2 separate regions of the Homo sapiens genome follow, and region 1 is linked to region 2. The links are contacts of gene promoters, found by promoter capture Hi-C in blood cells and fetal thymus (Javierre and others, 2016). All regions are on one chromosome and are shown on one strand. Each heading gives the region's core, a stretch centred on a gene start or on the middle of the fragment in contact. The rest is flanking DNA. Distances are from core to core; before and after follow the strand shown.

Region 1 (6,253 bases), core at 3,204-5,703, 560 kb before region 2:
GCCAGGTGCGGCTTCGAGCCGGGCTGCCCATCTACGAGTGCAACTCCCGCTGCCGCTGCGGCTATGACTGCCCAAATCGTGTGGTACAGAAGGGTATCCGATATGACCTCTGCATCTTCCGCACGGATGATGGGCGTGGCTGGGGCGTCCGCACCCTGGAGAAGATTCGCAAGAACAGCTTCGTCATGGAGTACGTGGGAGAGGTAGGGAGATGGGACCCGGTGTGTGTGTGCAGCTCTTCCCACCCTGTGTTCACAGTGTGCACCCGGCTCTCCTCACTGTGTGTCTGAAACTCCCTGCTTTCCCTATGGGAAAGGCCTGGGAGACTGATCTGAGTGTCACAGGGACATTGGGCAGGGGCTAGTATTCCAAGCTGGTACACACCAGCATGGCCATGCTGGTGGTTACAGGAACACCAAAATACTTCTGCACTGGGTTGACTTTATCAGGGTACTTAGCAAAGAAGAAAAGTGGGAGCTGAGATCCAGGCAGCCTTAGCATTCCTTGTAACAGGCCATGTGGTCTGGCATAGGGCTGCATCAGCTGGAAAGGCACTTCCTCTTCTCATTTCACAAGGGCCCATCTTATCACCAAGCAGTATCTGCCTGAGGAGCATTGTTTTACCAGTCTGCACAGAAGGAACGCAGTCTGGAGTAGGATGAGACATGCCTTGGACAAAGGTTGGCTAACTCCTTTAGACTTTCAGGACACTGGGGAAGGCCGAGTGTATTAGGCAAGCCAGCCATTGTAAAAACAACCCCCTCATCTTAGTGACTTTGCACATTACAAGTTTGCTTGCTCATGGAACAGTCCATTGTGGGGGTTTGAGTGGGTATCCTTTCACACAGCAACTGGGACACCTAGGCTCTTTCCCTCCTGTGCCTTTGCTGTGCCTTGAAGCCTTGGAGTCACTACCAGATCCTCAGCATTGCCTGGCAGGCGGGCCAAGTGGGGGATAGAAGGGGCCCATCCTAGTGGGCCAGGCCTAGATGCAGCACCCATCACTTCTGCCCATGCTCCACTGGCTGGAACTGAGTCACTGGCCTTACCTCCATGCAAGAGAGGCAACAGGATGTGCTTTAGCCATGTGCCCAGCTGCACAAGGCTAAAGCACAGCCATAACTAGCAACTAGATAACTAGCAAGTATCTACAACAGAAAAATGTCGCATTCTAAGATGGGATGCAGTTAGCATTTGGGATGAGATGATTTTTCGTTATGTAGAACTGTCTCATGCATTGGGGGACATTTAGCATCCCTGGACCTTGACCATTTAAATCCATGAGTGTGCCCTGTCATAGTGACAACCCCAGATACCTCTATATATAGCCATAGGTCCCTTAGGGGTGTGATATAGTTGGAAAGTGACAGAAACTGGCCTGAGGAACACTCACATGAGGGTGTCCACACTGTAGCACTGATACTGATGACAAGGAGAGGCTCCTACTCTGAGAAACTGTACAGAGGGTCACATCTGACAGGGACAGAGACAATCTTGGGTAGAACAATCTACACCACAGAGGACCCTGACAGTCTGGGCAAGGAGACAGCCACACCCTGTCCAGATAACCCTGCTGGCCTGCTGGAGGAGATGTCTACATGCCACAGGACCTGGCCATCTGGAAGGAGGAGGTGGGGAGGTGTCCACACCCTGAGGGCTCCTGACAGTGGGCGGGGGAAGGAGTCCTGATAATCTGCAGGAAGTCCATGTCCCACAGTGACCCCAGTGACCTGGAGGAAGAGCTTGTGCTCTCCACACTCTAGAGGACCTGGTGGTCTGACTTAGGAAGTGTTCACACCCATGTTGTCATGACAGGAAAAAGAAGTGTCCTCACCCCAGAGGGATCCGGACAGCCTGGAGATCTAGTCTACACCCAAGGGCACCCTGACAGTATCGGGGGAAGTGTCCATGCCCTCAATGTCCTGACGCTCTGGAGGAAGTGTCCAGAGGTTGAAGGAACCCAAACTCTCTGGAGGAGATGTCCAGACCCCATAGGACCCAGACAGTCCACCGTCCTAGGGGCTGCACAGAGCAGGAAGTATCTCAGCCTCACTGTACTGGCATCTGGAGGAAACACTGTCTACCACACAGGGTCCTGACAGTCGAGGAGGAAGACTACACCCCAAGGGCAGCCTCAGACCCTCCTGGGCCTGAGACTTTTCTGGCTGCTCTTCCTTAGTGTCAGTGTCTTTAATCCTCCCAGGGATCCTCTCAGCCCTGTCCTCACCCTTCCTGCTCTCCACACATTCTTGCTGCACTATTTCCTGACCGCCCTCCAGCACCCTCAGACCCATGGGTCCTCCTGATGGTGCCACAGGCCTCCGGAAAGAGCCAAACTCATCTTCCCGCATTCCCCTCTGAAGAGACAGTATAGCAAATGGTTAGGAGGGTGGACTCTGGATCCTGACTGCCCGAGGCTGAATCCCAGCTCCACTACTCATCAGCAATCACTAACCTCTGTGCCTGCATTTACTATGTAAAATGGGAACAATAATAGCACTCACCTCACAGGCTTGTTACAAAAATTAAATGAGTTACTATGTATCAAGCACTTGGAAAAAGCACTTGAACAGTGTTCAGTACACAGTAAGTTTGATACAAATGTTATCAGCATAGTTCAAACTTCAGCAAATCCAAAATGTCTGGAAGACCAAGTTTTTTTGTAACCCATCTGGCTACAGGACCCAGCCTGACCGGATAGGGTCCTATTTGTAGTTTTTATTTATCCTACTTGGGGTAATAGTCATACATTTCGTTGCAGCAGTTCTAATTTACTTGATTCTGTAGTGCCGTCCCAGATGCTGCCAGGGTGTTACGGAATCAAGGGCCTATCTGCACACCATGCTATCTACTGTCCTTCTTCAGCTGGGACATGTACTGACAGTCTGTACCAAGAGCTCCCTCCACGGGAGCTGCCCTTCCCTCCTTTGCAGCCTCCCACATTGGGTCAGAACTTTCACGTTCCTGCAGAACATTCCCATCCTCACCCAAGAGACAATGCCAGCCTATTTTATCCATTCTAAAACATGCATTTTCTTCCTATTTTAACATCTCGGAAATGAAGATGTCTTAATTAAATCATGGTGTATCATTTATAATTAACAGCAGTTTTTCCTTTCTTGGTAAAGGGCACATAAAATTAAGGGTGTGCCTTACATTTATAACTGGTCCTCATAACCACTCCTAACATTGCTCACTCTCCTATCAGAAACAGGAACACCTTTCACGTCCATGATCTTGTATGGATCTTTACAACAGCCCCTGTCAGGTTGGGATTTTGTCACTGTCATTCCCATTCTGCAGATGAGAAAACTGAGGCCCAGAGAGGTAGAATAACTTGATTAAAATCACAAAAGTAGTACAATGGATAAAAAAATAAAGGCCCAAATAATATCTAAAACTGGTACCCTGCCAGGCTGTAGCTTTTTTTTTTTTTTTTTAGCTGAGGAAACAGGCACAGAGAGAACATTCAGGATCCCATATCCAGGAGGGGGCAGAGCAGCAGCTGACTCCAAGTCTTCTAGTTCCCATTCACGTCAGCACCCTCTCGGAACTGCCAGCTTACAGCCTGTCTTTTCCATTCATTCTGGAGAGCTGTTAGGGAGCAGAGACAGGCCCATCTGTTCCCAAGCTTTCAGGGTTGACCAATCATTAGAGAATGGGACTGAAAAGAAGATGAGAAGGAACCAAGAAGTGTTTGTGCCCTGGAGGGCCTGCAGTATGACTCACTCCTGGTGAGACTGGGAGAGCAGGTAGTGGCAGAATAGGCATGAAGATGGAGACTAGGAAGGATGTGGGCACTCCTCCTGGCTCAAGGAGGGCCTACGGTGAAAAAGATGGCTCATACCCCACCCACTAGGCCTGTGAGCCTGGGAGAGGCTGCCCTTTGATCCCAGGACTTGATCAGACAAGTGGCCAGCTTCTGAGGTAGGGGAGGAACGGGAAGCTTGGAAGGCTGCCTAGAGAGGTCCCATCTGTTTGAGCTGATGCCACAAGGAAGACTGTTCTCCAGGAGGTGAAGGGAGACTGATCTTGACATATTCCACCCTCATGTTGTGGCCCTTAGGAGAGAGTCCCCACTCTTCCACCAGGTGGTAAAGCCCTTTTATGATCTGCAACTCGTTTTAGAGAATCCGTCTCTTCTCCATTCCCCCTCAAGCCCTAAGCACTGTTTCCTGATCACAGTCTTACACTGTGGGTGTGTGAATCTGTCTCTCTGTGACCAGACTTTGACCCCTTGAGGGCAGGGACCAATCCTGGTTCCTGTGTATCCCCTACCCACCTGTGACCCCTGAGAGTGGACCGGGCCTGGTCCCTGTGTCTCCCTGATCAGACCGTGAGCCCTGCATGCTGGGACTGGGCACAAGGAAGGCCTCAATAAAAACCCTGGCAAGGGAGCCAGGTTCCTCAAGGAACAGAACTGGAGCACGGGGCAGTGGGTAGTGTGGCCCGAGGCAGGGTAAATCTTGGTTTCCTCAAGGCATTGTTAGTCAGCCTTTGGCATGGAACACAGCCTTGAGGGGACAGCCAGGGAGAACACCAGTGTGGCCATCCTAGCTAAGGAGATGGATTCCCAAGTCAGAAGGGCATGGTCACCGGCCCACATGAGGGTGAGCAAGGAAGGAAGCCCGAGAGGGGTCTCTGGAGAAGGGAGGGGAAGGAAGAAGTGTGGCGGGGGAGTACTGGAGCTACCTGGAGGGCCGCCACTTGGACAGAGGACAGGCTGCTAAGCCAGGAAGCAGAATCAAAGTAAACAGCAGTCCCCATGTGTCTCCTGTGTGCTGTGCACTGTTCTTGGCTGAGGTACAGTGGGACCCCTACCCAGGGAAGGGCCTGGTCAGCTACGCTTGGGGATTGGCAGGAGGCTGCCGTTGCTGGCCTCAGGGAAGAGGGGCCATGGGGCCGGAGATTTGTTGGCGTGGATTGGGAGGCAAGGACAGGCTGGGGCTAGGATGGCAGCAAAGCTTCCCATTTCCTAGGACAGGTAGGGAACCAGCTGGGGAGGAGGCACCCACTGCCGTCTGAAGCACCAGTTGGCACTGCGCAGCCCTGGGCCGAGGGAGAGCTTCTCTCACTGTGCTCTCCCTTCATCTTTCCTCCTCCTCTGCTGCTGTCTCTGAAGTGTGTGGCCTCAGCCTCTTTCTGGCTCTCTGAACCTGGGCCTCCCTCTGCCTCTGCCTCCACCTCTCTTGTCTTGAGGCCCTTGCCCCCTTTCCCCATGGCCTGGGTCTCTTCTTCCCCTCTCTCCACGCCCTCCCTGCTGGGTCCTGCATGGGCTCAGGCTCCCTTGCCTGGATCAGTAAGTATCTCTCCCTGTGGCACCCTGGGTCACTTTCTTTCTTGCCCTTGCTTTGGTCTCTCCTGATCACCTTCCTGCTCCGTCCCAAGGCACTGGAGGCTCCAGGGGTTCTTGGGCAGCTCTTGCTGGGTGGCGGCAGGAGGTGCTCGCGTGGCCCCAGTTGGGCCCTGCAGCCAGGCCAGCCTGCACTCACCGCCAGGGACTCCTCCTGCTAGCCAGAGGCCTGAGGCGGGCCAGGCAGTTGCCAGCTGAGGCCCAGCTCCTCAGGAAGGGCCGACAGACTCTCTGCGTCACTGCCCATGTGTGTCCACGGGCAGGGGTGCCTCCTGCTCCCTGTCCTTCAGAAGTCAGGAGCAGTGCCGGCTTTCCTGAGACTTCGCGGCCAATCTCCCCTTACCCATGGCCCTTTCCCTAGATCATTACCTCAGAGGAGGCAGAGCGGCGGGGCCAGATCTACGACCGTCAGGGCGCCACCTACCTCTTTGACCTGGACTACGTGGAGGACGTGTACACCGTGGATGCCGCCTACTATGGCAACATCTCCCACTTTGTCAACCACAGTGTGGGTACCCCCGGCAGGCGGGCAAGGGGTCGAGAGGGGCAGGCTGGAGCCCCTCCTCACTCTCCCAACTGTTCTTTCTCGCCCAGTGTGACCCCAACCTGCAGGTGTACAACGTCTTCATAGACAACCTTGACGAGCGGCTGCCCCGCATCGCTTTCTTTGCCACAAGAACCATCCGGGCAGGCGAGGAGCTCACCTTTGATTACAACATGCAAGGTGGGGGTGGCAAGGGACTGGGGGCAGGGGCGCACTGTGACTTGGGACACAAGGACCCCTCCCAAAGGCACACCAGTCACTCAGAGAACCAAGGAAAATTCTTTAGCGGGAGCTTTAAGATGCTCTTCCTGACTCCCAGTCCCCCATTCGGACTACTAGACCCCTGCCTACCCCTC
Region 2 (5,882 bases), core at 78-2,577:
GTGTGGAGTGTCAGGTTGGGCAAGAAGGACAGGGCTTTGATTGTGATTCCATTAGTCAGAAGCTACCCATATGCCCAATCAACTTCTGGTAGCACACAGTCAGGTCAGTGTTTGCTGAGCTGAAATTTAAAAAAGTGAATCCTTCAGAAAGTTAAATTTCCTATTCGGCCATTCATTCAACAATAGTATCAAGTCCTGGAGAGTGCTTGCGGCTAACAATCAGGGGCATTCTTGGCTTGTGGCACTGCTCAAGAAAAGGTTGTAGTTGGGCAGGGAGGACCCAGTAAGTAACTAACTGCAACAGGACAGTCATTTTCACTTTCCTAGTTCACACACCAAGGTGTGGTCTAGGCCTTCAGGGGCTCTGGGTATTCCTGGGGCAATGGGGAGTCACGGAGGGTTAGGGAGAGGGTAACCCCATCCCTGAGAAGCACATTTTTCCTAATGGCTGCCTGCGTTCTATGGTTCTGCTGTCCGGCCACCCAATACCTCAGACTCTGTCTACACAGCGTCCTCCTCTCCAGCCTCCTTATTGGCTACTCATGCCTCCCTTCACACCACCTACACTGCCCCCGTCGGCTCTGCTTTTTTCCCCATCTTGCCTCCAAGTCCTCCCTCCGTCCCGCTGCACTATCTAGCCTCGGCATTGGCTCATCCCATACTAGTACTGTCCTTTGAGGTCTCTACGCCTTCACCCTGGCTCCCTCATTGGCTATCCGCCAGCTCTCGTCCTCGCTCCCGCCTTCAGCCTCCACCTCCATTGGCTCGGCTCCCTACACACCCGCCTCTTGGTCTCCTTTTAGCCTTCGTATTGGCTAGCTCCACCTTGGCACCACCCCTTCGAAGCCGCAGTGCACGCTCACAAGCCTCCCCATTGGCTCGCTGCAGCCATTGTCGTCATCCCACGCGTGGCTCTCCATTGGCTGTTCTCTCTCTCTAGCTACCGTTCCACCGCCTACGCAACCCGCGGGATCTCCCACTTTTTGGGCCTCTGCGTTCGTTCCCGGCTGCCCTCATCGCCTGTAGCCATTCCACTTTTCCCACCGCCCACATGCCTCTCTCGCTCAGACTTCCGCATTAGCTGTCTGCTTCTGTTTTCTTCATCATGGATTTCGCACCACCCCCATTCCGGCCTCTCCATTGATTCCTCGATCATCCCGCCCCCTACACCGCCCACTCCCGGGCATCCCCATTGGCTGCGTGCTTCTCCGGCTCTCAATTCGCTGTACGTCATCCGTGCATGGCTGCCCATTGGCCCTCTGCAATACTTGTCTTCATCTCACCGCCTATGCCCCCGTGAGCCGTACCCCTCCGCGCTGGCCTTCCCATTGGCTGCCCGCCCCTTCAGGCCCTGCCCCCGCCGGTCCCGCCGCCGGTGCCGTCGGTGCCGCCGCCGCCGCCGATATGGCGCGTACGGCCCCTGTGGAGCCCCCGCTGCGGCATTCCGCGCCCCCCTCGCCGGCCGCGGGTGAGCCCCGCACCTCGGTCGAGGCGGCGGTGGCCCCGCGGAGGGTGCTGTTCGCCGACGAGGCCTTGGGGCTGCCGCTGGCGCAGTTGCGCCGCTACCGGCCGTGGGGCGGGCCCGGGGCGGGCAAGATGGCGGCGGCGGCCGGGCAAGATGGCGGCGGCGGCGGCGGGGCCGACGAGGACGACGATGGCGAGGATGGGGATGAAGGGGAGGAGGAAGAGGAGGCTTGCCCCGAGCCCTCACCGCTGTGCCCCGTCCCCGCTGGCGGGGGGTTTTACCTGGTCCCCACATTTTCGCTGCCGCCCGCGCCGGGCCGTCTGGAGCGCTTGGGGCGCGTCATGGTGGAGCTGGAGGCGCTGCTGCCGCCTCCCGGAGCGGTCCCCGGGGGTGCCGGGGTGTGGGTGCCTGGGGGCCGCCCGCCGGTGCTGCGCGGGTTGGTACGCGTGCTGAACCGCTCCTTCGAGAAGGCGGTGCACGTGCGGGCCTCACACGACGGCTGGGCTTCCTTTTGCGACCACCCAGCGCGCTACGTCCCGCGCAGCCCGCCGTGGGCAGGAGCGGGAGGAACAGGAGCAGGAGATCCCATCCTGGATCCGGGGCTCGGCCTGGGTCCCGGCCAGGCATCCGCCTCCTCGCCCGACGACGGCGGCCGCACCGACCGCTTTGCCTTCCAGCTGCCCTTTGCTGAGGGCGCGGGCGATGGGGCGCGCCTCGACTTCGTGGTGCGCTATGAGACCCCTGAGGGCACTTTCTGGGCCAACAACCACGGCCGCAACTACACAGTCCTGCTCCGGATCGCACCCGCTCCCACACCCACTGATGCCGAAGGGCTGCCCCAGCAGCAGCAGCTGCCGCAGCTGGAGCCACAGCCCGAGTGCCAGGGTCCCGTGGAGGCTGAGGCCAGGCAGCTGAAGAGCTGCATGAAGCCGGTGAGGCGCAGGTAATGTCAGCCAGCGCCACCTCCGCCAACGCAGGGCTGTGTCTGGGATGGAGGACAAGCATTCCGGCCCAGGAACCCCTCAGGCCTGCTCTCCAGGACAGGGAGGAGGGTGCATTGAGTCAGTCAGTCAAAGAGTGATGGAGGTCAAACACGTGCTAGGCACTGTTTTAACTGGGGTTTTATTCCTCCATTTATTGAGTTCCACTGTAAAGCCCTGAACAAGACAGACATCTACCCTACCCTCAAGGATTCATACAGGCTCCTATGGGAGACAGTTTGAAAAAACAAGCAAGCAAGCAGATAGGATAAATAGGGACAAAGTTAGCTGCTGAAGGGAGTAAGGGGATAGATTGGGAGGGAATGACTGTGTCAGACATGCTGTTAAAGGGAGGGCCTTTGAGGAGGTGAGTCCCGAATGATGATAAAGAAGAGTTATGCAGATACGGTGGGGAGGTGGGGGAGAGTTTGTAGGAAAAGGAACAGGGAGGACTTTTCTGAGGAGGTTTCATTTAAACTAAGTCCTGGATGATGAATAACAGTTATGTGCATATATGGAACAAGGGTGTTCTAGGTAGAGGAAACAGCAAGTGCAAAGGTCCTGGGGTGGAAATGAGCTTGGTGTGAATGATCAGCAGTGTGCTGGAGTGGAGAGAACTGCAATGACATAGTGTGGACCAAGGGCTTTGCCAGTGGGGGGTAGAGCAGATTCTCTTTCTGACAGAGCAGGAAACCAGGATTCCAGAGGTGGAGAAACTGGTTGAGGCAGTGATGGCACCTGGCTCTTCCAGTTCACCCATGCCTGACCTTGAAGCCTGTGCACTCTACTGTTAACGCTGTAATCTACTTTTGAGTCCTGTGGAGGCGAGGGGCTGAGCCCATGCTCTCACAAGAAAGCAGTGGCTCTAGCAGAGAGACAGAACCAGATGGGTACTGGACTTGAAGTTTTTGTCCCTTGTTTTTTTGCCACACCACCTGTGATCATTTAGGGACAGGGAGAAATAATCAGTTATACCCCAGGGGGCCCCAGAAGATTTCCCTAGGTTTCCTCTATCAAGCTATGAGTTCTTTAAGGGCAGCAGCTAGTCCTGATTCTTTTTGCGGTCACCTAAGTCTGGCCCAGGATCACTAGATTCTCCCTAAAATGTATACATTTCCCTGTTCCTGGGAGGACTGGGAATGGAAATGGGAAAATGCTTTTTGGACCTTGTATGTATACGCTTGGTCAGAAGCCCCTGGCTGCAGTAAGACATTTGTGGGTTCTGCTGGTTCTGGTAAGGCCTTAGGCTGTGAGTGGTTCAGAAAGGTCTAGCTCCGGTCTGGTGGGCAGATGTGCCTGGGTAACTGAGCAGGCAGGCAGGTACCCACTCACCCACCTGTGAGCCCCACCATAATCTGAGACTTCATTTAAAGGGGGCAGGCAGCATGGTTTTTCTTACAGCATTAAGAGTGTGGATTCTGGCATAGATTGCCTGGGTTCAAATCCTGGCGCTGCCACTTACTGGCCTTGTGACCTTGGCCAACGCATTTAACTACACCATGCCTCAGGACCCTCACCTGTAAAACAGAATTATAGCATCTACTTTACGGGATAAGAGTAAAGGTGCTCAGAACCGAGTCTGGCTCAAAGTAGTATCATACAGGTGTTAGCTAGTGTCAGTATTTAGGGAGCCACACCTACAGTTTCCTGGATTCCTCTCCTAAATTCGGCTCCGCCCATCAGCTGTGTGGCCTTGCCTCCGTTTCCTTCTCTGCTAAGGGAAATGACAGTCACTTTGCATGGTTGGATTGAATGCAGCAAACATGGGCAAGGTAACTGAAGCATGGTGGTAACTGCAAAAGATAACTGGCCAGCATTTACTGATTTCTGTGCTATGAACATCAGATCCATTCTCTCCGTGAGGCCTGCTGTGCATGCTGTGTTGTGTAGGTGCTATGATTATCCCCATTTAGTAGAGGGGAGACAGGTAGCTCAGAGAGATGAGCCAGCTTGCTCAAAGCCTCTCAGCTAGTGAGTGACAGGGCCAGGGAAGAAATGCTAGGGACATTTATTTTTTTCTATTTTTTTTTTTTAAACTGGTCCTCTAGAAAGCGTGGCATGATTCAGGGCAAATTCTGGATTTCACTCTTGGTGTTCCCAGCATGTCGTGCTTTCCTTTTACCTTTTTTTTTTTTTTTGCTTTATCGAGGTATACCTACATAAAGTGTACTGATATTCTGTGTATAGCCCAGTGGATTTGTACATATGTATGCACTTGTGTAGCCACCACCCAGATGAAGATACTGAGCAGGTCCAGTACCCCAGAGCTACCTTCATTTCTATCACTTTCCCAAGCTGTCATCCCCGCCGGCTGTCATGGGAACCCTGTCTGTAAGATGCGACAGTTTGGGTAAAGGAGTTTGGTCATTTTAAAGAGTGTGAAAGGCAGAGAACAGAGAAATCAAAACCTTGCAGGGCCAAGGTGGGTGGAGAGGGTGTTTTTCTTTTAACATACATGGGCGGTTTTAAGGAGAAATTGAAGCAGCCTGTTCAGACAATTGTTTTGGTATCTGGCCCCAGGTCTGTGGTTCCTAACATGACTTGTGATATTATTTTAAGTGGGCAGATGGCTTTTTGATAGCTTCTTTATCTTTCGATCTCAGCTCTTGCAAAGGGGAGGTTGGTGCTCATTGCAAGATCAGCGATAAGGGTTTCTTTGTAGGTCGGTGGCTTTCTTGGTGAGTACATTTCAACATATTATTGTTTTAGAACCTGTGTGCTGCCAGTGACTTGCAGCACTGTTGAAGACTAGCCACCCTTTGTGACCTAGCCCTCTTGGGAAATGGCGGAGGATCTCAGGGTATATCCCTTACCTGTGGGAGCCCTATCAGAGGGCTTCCTGTTGAGGAAATGTTGGCTGTAGGCCCTCTGTGCACTGAGCACAGCCACATCAGGTGAGGGCATGGGAGAAGTCCGTGGTAGCCATCAGGATAGAGTTCAGAAACCCAAATGGCTGCTTTCCCTGGGTTGCTGGACCAGGCATTTGGTAACTCTAAAGCTTAGAGATGATTCATCGACAAGCATTTATTGACTGCCTACTGTGTGCTGGGCACAGTGCTAGGTTCCAGCAGGGAAAGAGATGCAGAGTGGTCCTAAGATGTCACAGGGCTTGTGGGATGGAGTACAGAGGATTTGTTGTATGAGACCTGGCTGAGCCCCTGCTCTTCGCCAGGCACTTCACTGAGTACTATATTTTCATGCAAGGTCTGGTTTAATTCCGACAACATTCCCTGTGAAGTAGAGGGTTTTAAATTTCTCTTTCCTGGATGAGCAAACTGAGGCTCCCAGAGTCCAAAGTCCTAGGGCTGGTGTGGGGAAAAGCCCTCCTGATCTTCCTTGGCACTTGACACTACCCTTTGGAAGTGTCCTATTCTTCTTAAAAGTAAAGACCAAGAGAGCCTCACCATGGTCTTCAAGCACCCTCCCATCCCATTCCC

What was found. Contacts are between HindIII fragments. The CHiCAGO score rates a contact against its expected background, and 5 or more counts as called.
Region 1: a contact is called between a fragment that was not itself captured here and the fragment with the promoter of PPP1R3F in region 2, in 1 of 17 cell types (neutrophils). The highest score is 5.1, in neutrophils.

What each region holds. Positions count from the first base shown.
Region 1 is chrX:48,700,551-48,706,803 of GRCh38, forward strand. SUV39H1 (SUV39H1 histone lysine methyltransferase) reads left to right here. Exons shown (of 6, transcript NM_003173.4): 3 at 1-203; 4 at 5,715-5,861; 5 at 5,948-6,077. Among named protein-coding and RNA genes, the nearest start is that of SUV39H1, 6.9 kb to the left of the region's middle. The HindIII fragment of the contact is 1,018 bases long and covers 3,945-4,962 here.
Region 2 is chrX:49,268,466-49,274,347 of GRCh38, forward strand. PPP1R3F (protein phosphatase 1 regulatory subunit 3F) reads left to right here and starts at 1,328. Exons shown (of 4, transcript NM_033215.5): 1 at 1,328-2,408. The coding sequence starts at 1,405. RefSeq lists enhancers at 417-916, 614-663 and a silencer at 1,364-1,603. The HindIII fragment of the contact is 7,823 bases long and covers 1-5,441 here.